2 separate regions of the Homo sapiens genome follow, and region 1 is linked to region 2. The links are contacts of gene promoters, found by promoter capture Hi-C in blood cells and fetal thymus (Javierre and others, 2016). All regions are on one chromosome and are shown on one strand. Each heading gives the region's core, a stretch centred on a gene start or on the middle of the fragment in contact. The rest is flanking DNA. Distances are from core to core; before and after follow the strand shown. Region 1 overlaps APCDD1L (APC down-regulated 1 like). Region 2 holds the start of NPEPL1 (aminopeptidase like 1).

Evidence for each region. Contacts are between HindIII fragments. The CHiCAGO score rates a contact against its expected background, and 5 or more counts as called.
Region 1: a contact is called between a fragment that was not itself captured here and the fragment with the promoter of NPEPL1 in region 2, in 1 of 17 cell types (endothelial precursors). The highest score is 6.8, in endothelial precursors.

The regions. Positions count from the first base shown.
Region 1 is chr20:58,474,352-58,480,776 of GRCh38, reverse strand. The region is part of intron 1 of APCDD1L (APC down-regulated 1 like); the gene reads left to right. Among named protein-coding and RNA genes, the nearest start is that of APCDD1L-DT, 38 kb to the left of the region's middle. The HindIII fragment of the contact is 2,981 bases long and covers 1,084-4,064 here.
Region 2 is chr20:58,689,090-58,695,254 of GRCh38, reverse strand. It overlaps NPEPL1 (aminopeptidase like 1), which reads right to left and starts at 2,455. Exons shown (of 12, transcript NM_024663.4): 1 at 2,205-2,455; 2 at 1,333-1,518; 3 at 663-833. The coding sequence starts at 2,354. It overlaps STX16-NPEPL1 (STX16-NPEPL1 readthrough (NMD candidate)), which reads right to left. Exons shown (of 23, transcript NR_037945.1): 9 at 4,028-4,221; 10 at 3,693-3,850; 11 at 3,475-3,531; 12 at 1,333-1,518; 13 at 663-833. RefSeq lists enhancers at 269-876, 2,317-3,022 and silencers at 1,940-2,029, 2,050-2,129, 2,160-2,319, 2,330-2,819. The HindIII fragment of the contact is 11,943 bases long and covers 584-6,165 here.

The DNA of each region.
Region 1 (6,425 bases), core at 1,325-3,824, 210 kb after region 2:
GCACAGTTTTCGTTCTGGAACATTCCTAAACAAACAAACAGAAAAACCTAGCTTATGAGCCAGGCTTGGTGGGCCAGAACTCGTCTCCCCAGGCCCCCATTCCTTTCCCATTCTGTGAACTGTGCACTTCCTTTCCCTCAGCAGGAGTGGCTAAGCAGAGGCCTCGGGGAGTTATCCTCAGTGGCCAGCCGCTTCCTCATACGCAGCGTTTTCCATTGTGGCTTAAGCACATGTCACACAAACATGAAGCAGTCACCTTCTCCAGGTGGTACCAAGCAAGGCCCACCTTTGTCCTCCATCCCGTGGTCCAGACTGACCTGAGACTTTTCATGGAGAACTGGGGGGCCAGTAGCTAACCAAACCCTGTCCCTTTGATCACCTGTCAACCCGCAGCTTCTTAATCCAAAGGCCCTTCTGCTTCTCACATCCTCAGACCTGCTCTGCCAGGTACCCCTTGACTGACTTTCTCGGGCAGCCTTCAACTCTCTGAGTGCACTGAGCAGAGGAGGGCACATTCCACAGGGCTGGGATGCTGAAGGCTGCGGCGGGTGGAGGGTGCTTTGTTTAGAGCATATAATTTCTGTGTTTCCCAAGGTAGCAAAGTCCAACCCATTCCCCAACTTGCCTGCCAGCCCTGAACACGAAGATTCTCGGATTAGGTGGATGAGGAGATTCCATTATAGCCAAATGAGAGACATGTGAGGTATCTGAGGACCAGCCATTCACACCAGAGGTTGGAGGTGGGCTTCTTAGAATGCAAAGTGTGTCTTCATATTTCTGTGTTTGTTGATGCAGCATCCAGTCATAGCATCCAATCTGCAGCCTTCTGGGGGTGTTCTGGTGCAAACCCTGCATGCCTTTTGTGCAGTGACTTCATTGGAAAGTACATCTTTGGCTGCAGCAGTGCTGGAATGGCTCCATTTCCACAGCCGGTCTCTGAAGCTTAATGGCCACGCAGCCAGGGCCACCATCGCAGCCAGCATATCTCCTCCATTTGTAAAAGGCAGCCTCCTCTAATCAAGAGAGGTTATTTTTTGGGTAGGGAGCCATTGCTGAAATTTTTATTTAAAATATGTGTAAGCTTCCTCCAAGTCCAAACTTTCTAGGTGAATTACCTCAAGCTGACGGTTTTGAAATAAACTAGAGGGTTTCAGATATTTTAAGAAAAAAAAAAAAAAAAAAAGCAAATCTTAATCCAAACCTCAGTATATAAAACAGAGCAACAGATAGGGACTGTTTGGGCTAAAGCTGGGTCAAAGACTACATCCTACCCACTGGGTTGCCCTATCTGTTTCAAAAATAACCCCAGGGTCTTCAGAAGCCAACTTGAAAACCTCTGATACAGCAAAATGTGACATGCATGCTCCATCCTTGAGCTAGAGCTCTGCTGTCTAATCTGGCCATGTAGTCACAGGGCACCTGAAATGTGACCTGTCTAAATTGAGTTGTGCTGTAAGTATAAAATATACACCAAGTTCTGAAGACTTGGTATGGGGGGGAAAAGCACATAAAATATCTCATTAATCGTTGTATTTGTTACATGTTGAAATATATAGTACTTGGAGCCGGATAAAATATATCATTAAAATTGATTTTACCTGTCTCTTTTTAGCTTTTTTAACATGGCTACTAGAAAACATGCACCAGTAAAATCACATGCAGGGCTGACATTTATGGCTTGCATTATGTGACTGTGGAGCTAGTGGAGGCTTCCTTGGGGGTGCAGGACCATGTCAGGATCCTGGTTTCACTAGGGCAGGTTCCAAGGGTGAAAAGAGGCTTTAAAGCAAAGCACCTGGCATTCGCTTCTTAGGCCAGATCCAACCCATCTAAGCCTGTGACATGATCTGATGCTCACACACCAATCTCCCTTCACCTACTTCTCTTTCCTCTCTACCTGCTTGGATCAGCCTGGGCCCCCAGCCTGCTGGGAACTCCCTGACTGATCACCCTTTTGCCCTCAGCCAGATTCTTGGCAATCCCAACAGCTGTAAACCTTGTCTTTCTCCTCTCCTGCTTCAAGCCTGACTGTAATGGCCACATCCTGAGGGGTGGGAGAAGGGTCAACAAGGAAGTCACACACGTGCTGCTATGGACCACAAGCCATTCATTCATTCAGCGAAAAGTAGTCATTATAAATAGCATTTACTGAGCACTTAGTCTATGAAGGCATTGTCCTAAGCACTTTCCATGACTTAACACAACAAATATGTATTGGGCATCCCTGAGGCACTGTGCCAGGTGCTAGAGAATCAGCAGTGAGCAAGAGAGATGAGGACCCAGCCCTCATGAGGCTGGCAGACTCGTGGAGTCACAGGCAGAGGAAGGGAGAAATGAGGGAAGGGAAGGGAAGGGGAAAAGGGAAGGAAGGAGGGAGGAAGAAAGGACAGAGGGAAGGAAGGAAGGAAGGAAGGAGAAAAGAAAAAGTTAAGAAGCCTAAAGTGACAGCCCACTAGCAGTGAGCACACCTAGCACCCAGATCTTGGTTTCTAAACACCATTTTCCAATAAAAGGAATCAGAGCTCCTTGGAGAAATGGCCAGTTTCAGGGATGGGACTGAAAAAAATACAAAATGATCCTGGAAGATCTTCTGGCACCAGGAAATGAGGAAGTACTCCCCCTAAAATGACAAAGACATACAGGAAGGACACAGGAGATTAACTGGAGGAGCTCCCAATGGCCAAATCAGGGACAATTTGAGCAACAAAATAAATAATGATAGTAATGTGTTATAACCGATAAAGTAAAATAAATATTCAGGAGTTCATAGTAATATAAATAATTGAATAAAAAGATAAATGGGAGAGAAGGGACAGTACATCTTTACAGCACAATTACTGTTAATCAACTCAGAAAGAGCTGGGCATAGTGGCTCATGCCTGAAATCCCAGCACTTTGGGAGGCTGAGACAGGCAGATCTCTTGAGCTCAGGAGTTCAAGACCAGCCTGGGCAACATAGTGAGACCCCATCTCTAAAAACAAAAATAAACTCAGAAAGAGTGATGGAACTAGAGAATGACCATTTGGAAAACACCACCAATAATAATTGTAGGCAAGAATCATTGACAGTTATCAATAGATGCTAAAATTAGTGAGGGAATGTATAATGAAGTACAAGATATTTCTGTTATCTCTGAGTATATCCCCATAAGGTAATCATTAATCACAGAGAGAAAAGTAGTAATTTAATAGTGGAGAAACATGGTAGATGCCTCCTTAAGCAAGTGATCACAGTCAAGATCACCAGGAATGGCATGATTGCCATGGTGTGCCTCCTGAGATGATGCACTGGGAAAGATACACCATCGCTTCCACAACATTCTTACCAGAAACGCATGAGCAGAATTTACTCACGAGGAAACATCAGACCATCCCAAACTAAGGACACTACAAAATAAGAGCCACTACTCTTCAAAAGTGTCAAAGTCGTAGAAGACAAAAAGAGAAGATATGTCTCAGATTGAAGGAGACATGACAGCTCAATACAATGCAGGATCCTGGACTGGATGCTGGACCAGAAAGGGGACATTAATGGGACAATGGATGAAACTTGAATTAGGTCTGTAGACTCGTTAAGAACACTGTATTGATGTTAACGTCCTGGTTCTGATCATTGCACAATGTCTGCGTAAGATGTTAACCTGTAGAGAAACTGGACAAAGCATACACTAGAACTCTTTCTACCACTTTTGCAACATTTTTGTAAGTCTGAAATTATTTCAGAATGAAAAGTCAAAAAAGTAAACCGAAGTAAGAAAGCAGATAATAAATGCCAGATGTGATGAGTGCTGCACAGGAGAGAAGAGAATGGAGTGAACAGAAGAGGGGTGCCTGGAAAGGATGCACTGCCAGGAAATGCCATTTATGCCGAGATCTCCGCGAAGATGGAGAGCCCAGCACAGAGCAGAGGATGGAACAGCACAGGCAATAGCCTCAAGGCAGCCAAAGGTTTGCCCTTTCAGCACTAGGGACTCACAGTGGAAAAGCACGGTGGGATGGGGTGGATGATCTGGTGGTAAAAAGGCACCCAGTTTCAAAGGGCTTCGAGGCTACACAAGAAAGCTTGGATATTGAACCAAGTGCACTGGGAAATCATTGAAGTTGTTGGCCATTGTTTAAATTTCCATCAAGACACTTGGGATGGTTTGAAGTTCTACTCTGATGTGAGTCTATTTGATTAATGTCAGTCTCTCCAGGAGAACAGGAATTCTGACCATCATGTGCAGCCATATAGACCCAGAGTCCATTTCATTTCCAGGCATACAACAGGCATTCAATAAGTATTTGGGGCAGGGCGCAGTGGCTCACGCCTGTAATCCCAGAACTTTGGGAAGCCAAGGTGGGTGGATCACGAGGTCAGGAGATCAAGATCATCCTGGCTAACATGGTGAAACCCTGTCTCTACTAAAAATACAAAAATTAGCAGGGCATGGTGGCATGCGCCTGTAGTCCCAGCTACTCAGGAGGCTGAGGCAGGAGAATTGCTTGAACCTGGGAGGCAGAGGTTGTAGTGAGCCGAGATTGCACCACTGCACTCCAGCCTGGGCGACAGAGCAAGACTCCGTCTCAAAATAAATAAATAAATAAAAATAAGTGTTTGTGTTGGGGAGAAGAAATGAATGAATGAATGATAGTTGGGTCACCTGGGGGACCTCAATTTTGGATGGCCCTTGTTATCTGCTGTGGGTTGAATGTAACCCCCCAAAAAAGATATGTTCGAGTCCTAACCCCCAGTACCTGGGAATAGGACCTTATTTGGATATAGGGTCTTTGCAGATGTAATCAAGTTAGGATGAAGTCACACTGGATTAGGATTAGGGTGGGCTCTAATCCAGGGATTGGTGCCTTTATAAAAGAAAGGAGAGGGAGATTTGGACACAGGTGCAGACAGAGGAAACACACAAGTAGGGATGAAGGCCATGGGAAGATGGGGGTAGAGACCAGCGTGATGCAGCCCCAAGCCAAGGGACACCTGGAGCCACCAGGTGCTGGGAGAGGCCCTACCCACACCTTGATTTCAAACTTCAGACTTGCAGACTCCAGACTGGGAAAGGATCGACTCCTGTTGCTTCAGCCACTCAGCGTGTGGTCTTTGTCGTGGCAGCCCTGAGATGCCCAGATGCTCTCCTTTCGCGTGCCTCAGGTGAGGTGACGAGTTCACCTTGAGCTGCTCCTCCCTCCGTCTTCCGTGCACCACCCTCAGGCCATTTACCACACCCACGAGTCCCTTGTACATCTCCTTATAAAATATGATTTTATTAAAATATTAAAAGAAAATAATTAAAATACCAAATATTTTAATATCAAGTTCAGATCAATCACCTTTTAAAACTCAGTCCTCAGAAAAACGGGCCATGCAAGTACAAGGCTGTTATGATAACTACCGCCACTTTTAACACCCTCTAAAACCGACGCGTGACTGTTGGAATACGAAGTGCTCGCTTCGCGCCTGAAATCACCTCGCACCCCACCCTGTGTTCGTTCGTGCCTTGCTTCGAGAACCTCAGAACAAGCAGATTACAGGAGAAAAAAGTACTTTTCTTTTGCTTTTTACCCCCAGAAGAAAGGTACCTGAAAAGCTGATATTTCTCCCTCTGCTCTGACTACAAAACTCACATCTTTTCTCCACCCTCTTCTCTCTTTGATCCATACCTGCGTTTTTCATGATCTTTGAAGAAAACATAAATTGTGGCCCCAGGAGTGAAGCCTCTCTAGGCCTCCACTGTTCATCTGCAAACTGGAATAACCACACCCATCTAGGAGAATTGCTGGGGAAGGGAGGTAAGAGAAGGGCACAGAGTGTGGGATTCCATCTTTATGAAATATCCAGAATAGGCAAATCCACAGAGACAGAAAGCGGAGTCATTGTTGCCGAGATCTAAGAGGAGAGGGGAGCGGGAGTGACTGCTGATGGGCACAGGGTCCCCTTTTGAGGTGATGACAACATTCTGGAATGAGATCGTGTTGGTGTTTGCACGGTATTGTGAATGTCCTAATGCCACCAAATTGTTCACTTTAAAATGGTTAAAACGGTGCCTGTTATTTTTTGTTTTGTTTTGTTTTGTTTTGTTTGAGACTGAGTCTCACTCTTGTCACCCAGTCTGGAGTGCAATGACATGATCTTGGCCCACTGCAACCTCTGCCTCCTGGGTTCAAGCGATTCTTCTGCCTCAGCCTCCCGAATAGCTGGGATTACAGGTGCGCGCCACCATGCCCAGCTAGTTTTTGTACTTTTAGTATAAACAGGGTTTCACCATGTTGGCCAGGCTGGTCACAAGCTCCTGACCTCAGGTGATCCGCCCACCTCGGCCTCCCAAAGTGCTGGGATTACAGGTGTGAGCCACCGTGCCCAGCCAAGATGGTACCTTTTATGTTAGGTGTATTTTACTAGGTGTGTTGTTGTGTTTTATTTAGCTAAGAAGCAT
Region 2 (6,165 bases), core at 1,206-3,705:
TGCACACACCAGCACTCATACACACAGCAACACATGCTGCTCATGCACACACCAGTACTCACACACAACAACACACACCACACATGCACACACCACACATGCACACCACACACACACACCACTCATGCACACACCAGCAAACACACACACACAGCAACACATACCACACGTACACCACACACACCACTCATGCACACACCAGCAAACATACACAGCAACACATACCACACACACACACACATCACACATGCACACACACACCCCCCACACATACAACACATGCACATACACTCATACACGCACAGCAACACACATGTGCACGCACATACACACACACGTGCATACATCACACACGTGCACACGGAGCTCACATAAACGGGCAGGGTTATTTGGAAAACAGCATGGACGTTCCTGGCACTGATTACGTGCTCAACAAACACTGCCTGTATACAACAGAATCCTGAAGTCACAGACCACGCTGAGGCAGAGGCAGGGGGCCTGGGTTTGGAAAAGCCTCTGCCGCTTCCCAGGAACCAAAGCTCCTGGGAAGGGCAGGAACCCCCTCCTGCCCCCGCAACAAGCTTTTCCCTCTCCCGACCTCCCTCCCACCTGCCCGATCTTGCCCGGGCCCAGGGGCAGTGTCTGCCCTTCCAGACACCCACCTGCAATGTGGACACCTCCACCGGCCCGTTGTCTTGTCCCACCAGGAAAAACTCCACGGTGACCGTCTTCTTCTCCAAGCGCCGAGAGGCACCTGAGCGGTGGGTGAACAGCGGGAAGGCCCGGGCCAGGGCACAGGCGGAAGCAAAGACCTCCGGCTGCTCGCAGACCATCTGTGGCACATAGGGAGACGGCGTGAGGGGTGCAAGGGCCGCCACCAGGGAGTGCAGGGAGCTGCTCTTTGAACGCCTCCGGAACATCAGCTCCCTGGCAGGTGACATCTAGACAGAGATGTCCCACAGCAGCCGCCACCCCATCCCTCAGGTCATCCCCGGAACCATGGGACCACCATTGGTCATGCTCCAAGAGAAATAACACATTGGCCACCAGATGTCAACAGCCTGACCAGCCATGAAAATGAGGGACAGAGGGACAGACACAAAGTGGGCCTCAGGAAATCTAGGTTTGAGTCTCTGATTTGCCACCAAAACTGATCTGGGGCAAATCCCCGCGTCTCTCTGGACCTGTTTCCCTGTCTACAGAGCAGGGATGATAACGTCCACAGCCCTCTGGGCGTGCGCTGCAGTCTGAGCAGGGCTGTGAGCTCCCCAGGCCCGAGCTCACCGCTGCCCGACTAGGAGCACCGTGGCTGCCTCCTCTCGAAGCACTCACCACAATGCAGCGATGCGCTCCGGGCGGCAGGCAGGTCCGCACCAGCCGCGTGATGAAGTGGGCGGCCGAGGGGCTGTTGTGCCGGCTCACCCTGCAGGGCAGGGCAGCCACGGTGGCGTAGTTCAGGTAGAGGGGACAGCTGTCCGTGGGGTTGGGGTTGAGCGTGCTCAGGGCAGCCTGCCAGAGCTAGATCAGAAGGGAGAGACAAGACACAGAGGCTTCAAACAGCGGCCACGTGCCAGGAGGCCCTGCCCTGCAGCCACGGCCACAACCACTCCTGCAGTCCTGGAAGGGCACTGCGCAGCTCCCGGCCACCGTTTTCCCATCCTTAGGGAGATGTGTCGCCTCTCTGCAGAGCTAACTGTCTCTAGGCTGGCTCGCATCCCCCTGGTGGGATGAAGCCACCAAGCCTGGAAGGGCCAGGCTGGGGGCTGCTTTGCTTCCAACACTCGGATAGGGCTTAGGCGGCTTCCACCAGAGAGGGGGCAGGGGCCAGGTGTCCCCAAGGAAAGGCAGCTGGGGACACTGCCATGGGAACTTCTGGAAGCCAGGGCCTGTCGCCAGGCGGGGCCGACGCGCGGCCCTGGGAGCGGCCACGTCTCCCCCCCCGCCGTCCGCAGGTGTCGCGGCCTCGCGGGGCGCAGGGCTGGGCTGACAGGAGGACCACCGCGCCGCACCGGCGACGGGGCCTGGGGCTGGGCCTCCGCGGGCGAGGACTGGCCTGGCGGCTGAGCCCTTCAGGGAGGCGGCCCGGCCTCGTTGGGCCCGGCCCGGCGGCGGCGGGGGTGCGGCGGGCGAGGCGGGGCCTCCGCGGGCCGCCCGGGCCTGGGCTTCCGCGGCGCGGGTCGCATGGCGGCCGGCGGCCCGCTCACCTCCTCGGTGACCCGGGGCTGCAGCTTCCCGCGGACGTGGCTCCAGGGCACGCGGTGCAGGTGGTGCAGCTGCCCGAGCAGCAGCAGGGGCCGGCTCTGTGGGTCCGAGTCCCCCGCGCTCGCCTGGAACTGCAGCCCCACGTTCGCCATCTTCCTGCCGGCCCACGCCCCGGCCCTGCCCGGCCCGGCCCGGCCCGCCGCTCGGCCCCCTTCGCCCCGCTCCGGCCCGGCCTCGGCACCGCCCCGGCCCTGCCCGGCAGCCCGCGGGCCCCGCCTCCCCCGCCGCTCCGGGCTGCTCGCGAGACGTGCAGGGCCCGCCCGGGGCGCGAGGGGGCGCCGGCCAGGCCGGGCGGAAGGGTGCGGGCAGGCCCGGCCGGGCAGGCCCGAAGCCGGCCCCGAGCAGGCCCTGCCGAGTAGGGCCCGCGCGCCCGGCCTCCAGCGGCGCCGCCCCTGGGCCTAGCGGCCCTGCCCAACACGCGGGGCGACGTGGCCCGCCAGGCAGCGCCTCCCGGACGGGCCTGGCCTCCAGTGGGGCCTGGGCCGACGTAGGCCCAAGCCCACCCGACGCAGTTCCGCCCGGTCAGGCCTCAGGCTGGCCCCAAGCAGGTCCCCCGAGGTCCCTTAGCAGCTGCTTTTGATCCCCAGGGACCCCGCACCCTGGCCACCCATCAGTTAGGCCGGAGGGGCCCAGTGACTCTTGGACCTGAGTCAGGTCCTTTTGTCCCACTGCCTGGCATGGTGGGTACAGCGTGGACGGTCACTTCCTCCTCACTTAATCGGAGGTTCCCTGGCGTTTATCAGACCCCGCTCTGCCAGGCACTGCCCTGGATGTGAGAGGGTGACAGGGACGTGGCTTTCCATCCAGGGCACTGCTGCTGGGATGGCCAGTTACAAATCCAGGCACTGCCTGGCTGCATGGGGGGCCTTCCCGCCCACCCCTTTGCAAGAAGGGTCATCTGGCACAGTCTAAGCAGGAAAGGAGGGACGAGATGAGACGAGGAAGGAGCAGGGTGACCTGAGTCACCTCAGTCGCCTTACAGGGGAGGAAAGGCCATCGGGGGTGTGGGGCAGGAGCCGGGTGGTGGAGGAGCCAGGGGTGAGCCTTGAGTGGATGGTGGAGGCGGAGGGTCCCACCCACAGGGTCAGATGCAAGGGTCAGGGAATGACGATGCATTGGGGAAGCTCCACCCAGGAGTCATTTAAAAGCAAAAATCTGTTACCCAACATCCTGATTGCTCAAGGGCCTTTGGTTGGTACCCTCCTCTGTTACCTCCATGTAGTTCCATAAGCCACTCCTGTTATTTTGAGTTTCTTCTTCATAACCAGCCTAAAAATGAAAAAAAAAAAAAAAAAAAAAGAAAAGAAAAAAAGAAAAAAAAGCACTGTCAACTCCCTGGCGTGGTGTGAGAGGTTTTCCACCACTGACCTCCCAGCTGGCCCCCTAGCTCCCTAACTTGTAGCCCCGGGAGCCACAAGCCAGGCTTTCACCTTCCCTGTCCACAGGCTCCAGGTCTGTCTGCTCAGCTCTGAGCCATGGTCCCTGGCCCCTTGGAAACACCACAGACTAGAGCTTCAGCATCCTGAAGGCAGGTCTTTTTGACTTTTTGTTGTTTTTTTTTCCTCCAGTTCCTGGCACAGAGCAGGCACTCAAAAAAAAAAAAAAAAAAAAAAAAAAAAAAAAAAAAAGCTGTTGAATGACTGAAAGGCATTCCTTTGAAACCCTCAGCTTTCCCGACATAAAAGTCAACGCTAATTGGATCTTATTTTCTTCAAAAGATTTTACAGCAGCTGAATGTTTTCACACATTGGTAAAGGGTACTAACAGTGTGTATGAAGATCTCTCACTCTTTTTTCTGTTTGCAAATACGTTGCAGACAGGCACACGGCACTCCAGAGGACTGAGACAGCTGGAGGATCTTCCTAGAGGGTGAGAGACTAAGGCCATGCCCTGACAGATGTAATAGGACTTCCACAGGCGAAGAGATTGAGAAAGAAGGCCTTCCACGTGGGAGAAGTCCTGGGAGGAAACACAGACGCAGAATATGTCCAGCAGGCTCTGAAACCTGTGTGGTTAGAACAGAAGGTTCCTGGAAAATAGGAGTGGGTGAGGAGATCGACTGGGGAGCCTGGCTCACTCTATAGAATTTTGCAAACTGAAGAGGGATCCAAGAAGCATTTCAGAAAGCCAGATCTAGCAGGTTTGTGTACAAGGAGTTGGAAATGAGATAAACTGTTGGTGGAGAGGTCATTTTGGAGATGTTTTTCTTTTAGAATTCTTTCATATTTAAGAATAGACTGAATAACCCTGACAGTCCCCAGAAAGGATGAACAAAATGATTCAATTCAACCAACATTTGTTGAGCACTTAGTGTACACAAAGCAAGAGAAAACGTTAGATGCTTGTTAAAAGCAAATATTGGTGATTCTGGTTTTAAGCCACCCCCGAATTGAAGAAATCCAAACTAAACAGAACGCTAAGGAATTATTCCACTTCAAATGCCTGCCAATTTCCTCAAGATTCAGCTTGTGACAGATACAAATACATTCCAGGAAAGTACTTTCCCTTTTTCACTGCTGACTTTACAGACTTTAACATAAATAAGACAGGCAGCACTTTGTTTAGATAAATTTTTATGAAGGTATTAATCCATGGCTTACTATATATTTCACTGTCAATGAAAAATTCAACTCTATTTAATTTTCCTTAAAAAATGAAAGTTTAAAACAAATTACCAGATCTTTAATGCAACCCAAAAATCAACTTATGTTTTTGATGGCTTGAAACCTATTCCACATTCAATTGGATGTTCAGACTTTGCTCCAAAGTTGAAGAAAAGATTAAAAACTTCTGGGACAAATCAGAATAAAGCTCCTAGAACTTACTAGGATGTTTTTTGGTACAGTTCACATTCTAGGACACATTTCTGAAATCCTATCTTGTAAGATGGCTCTAGGTGTTTGAAATCTACATTTATATGTTAATTTCATGTCAGACTTCACCCCTATAAAACCTAATGCCTGCTTAGACTCAGCTGATTGCCACGAGGCTCTCAGATTCCATTATATCCGATACTTCAAAGAAACATTTCCTCGGTGCATCTGCTTCGTATTTTCTAGCATTTTCATTCATTCATTCATTTGACATACATTTGTTGAACATCAGTTCTGAAAAGCTACAGGACCCGTGAGGCTTTGGGGACGCAATAGCGTGTGTGTGTGTGTGTGTGTTTGTGCATGTGCACGCATATGTGTGTGTGGCCAGGAGGAGGAAGGGGAAGCAAGTAGAACAGTAAAATCCAGAGATCCAGTCACTGGGAGAAGATTGAGTTAGGGAAGGCCCCTTGGACTACGATGAGACTTTTGAGTTGGGCCTGGAGGGATCGGTTAAAGTGTGTCAGGCAGTCTGATCCCTGACCAAGGAATTGTTCATGCAAAGGCCTGAAGTAGTAAAGGACATGGTTCATTCTGGCACTGTCAAAAGCTCATGTGGAACCAGGCCCCGTGGCTCAGGCCTGTAATCCCAACACTTTGGGAGGCTGAGGCAGGTGGATCACTTGAGGCCAGGAGTTTGAGACCAGCCTGGCCAACATGGTGAAAACCCATCTCTACTAAAACTACAAAAATAAGCTGGGCATGGTGGTGCATGCCTGTAATCCCAGCTACTCGGGAGGCTGAGGCATGAGAATCACTTGAACCTGGGAAGCGGAAGTTGCAGTGAGCCGAGATCACGCCACTGCACTCCAATCTGCAGGACAGAGACTCTGTCTCTACAAAAAAAAAAGAAAGAAAAAGAAAAGCTCCTGTGCCAGATATAAAGTGCGCATAAAATATATACTGACCTTGCAGGTTGTACTTGACCTTGCAAGTAACTGGAGACCAGTGGAAGTGCCTCAGGCAGGCCTGAAGTGGAAGCAAGGAAGGGCTCCTTCCTGCTTCAGAATGACCTGCTCGTGAGCCCAGA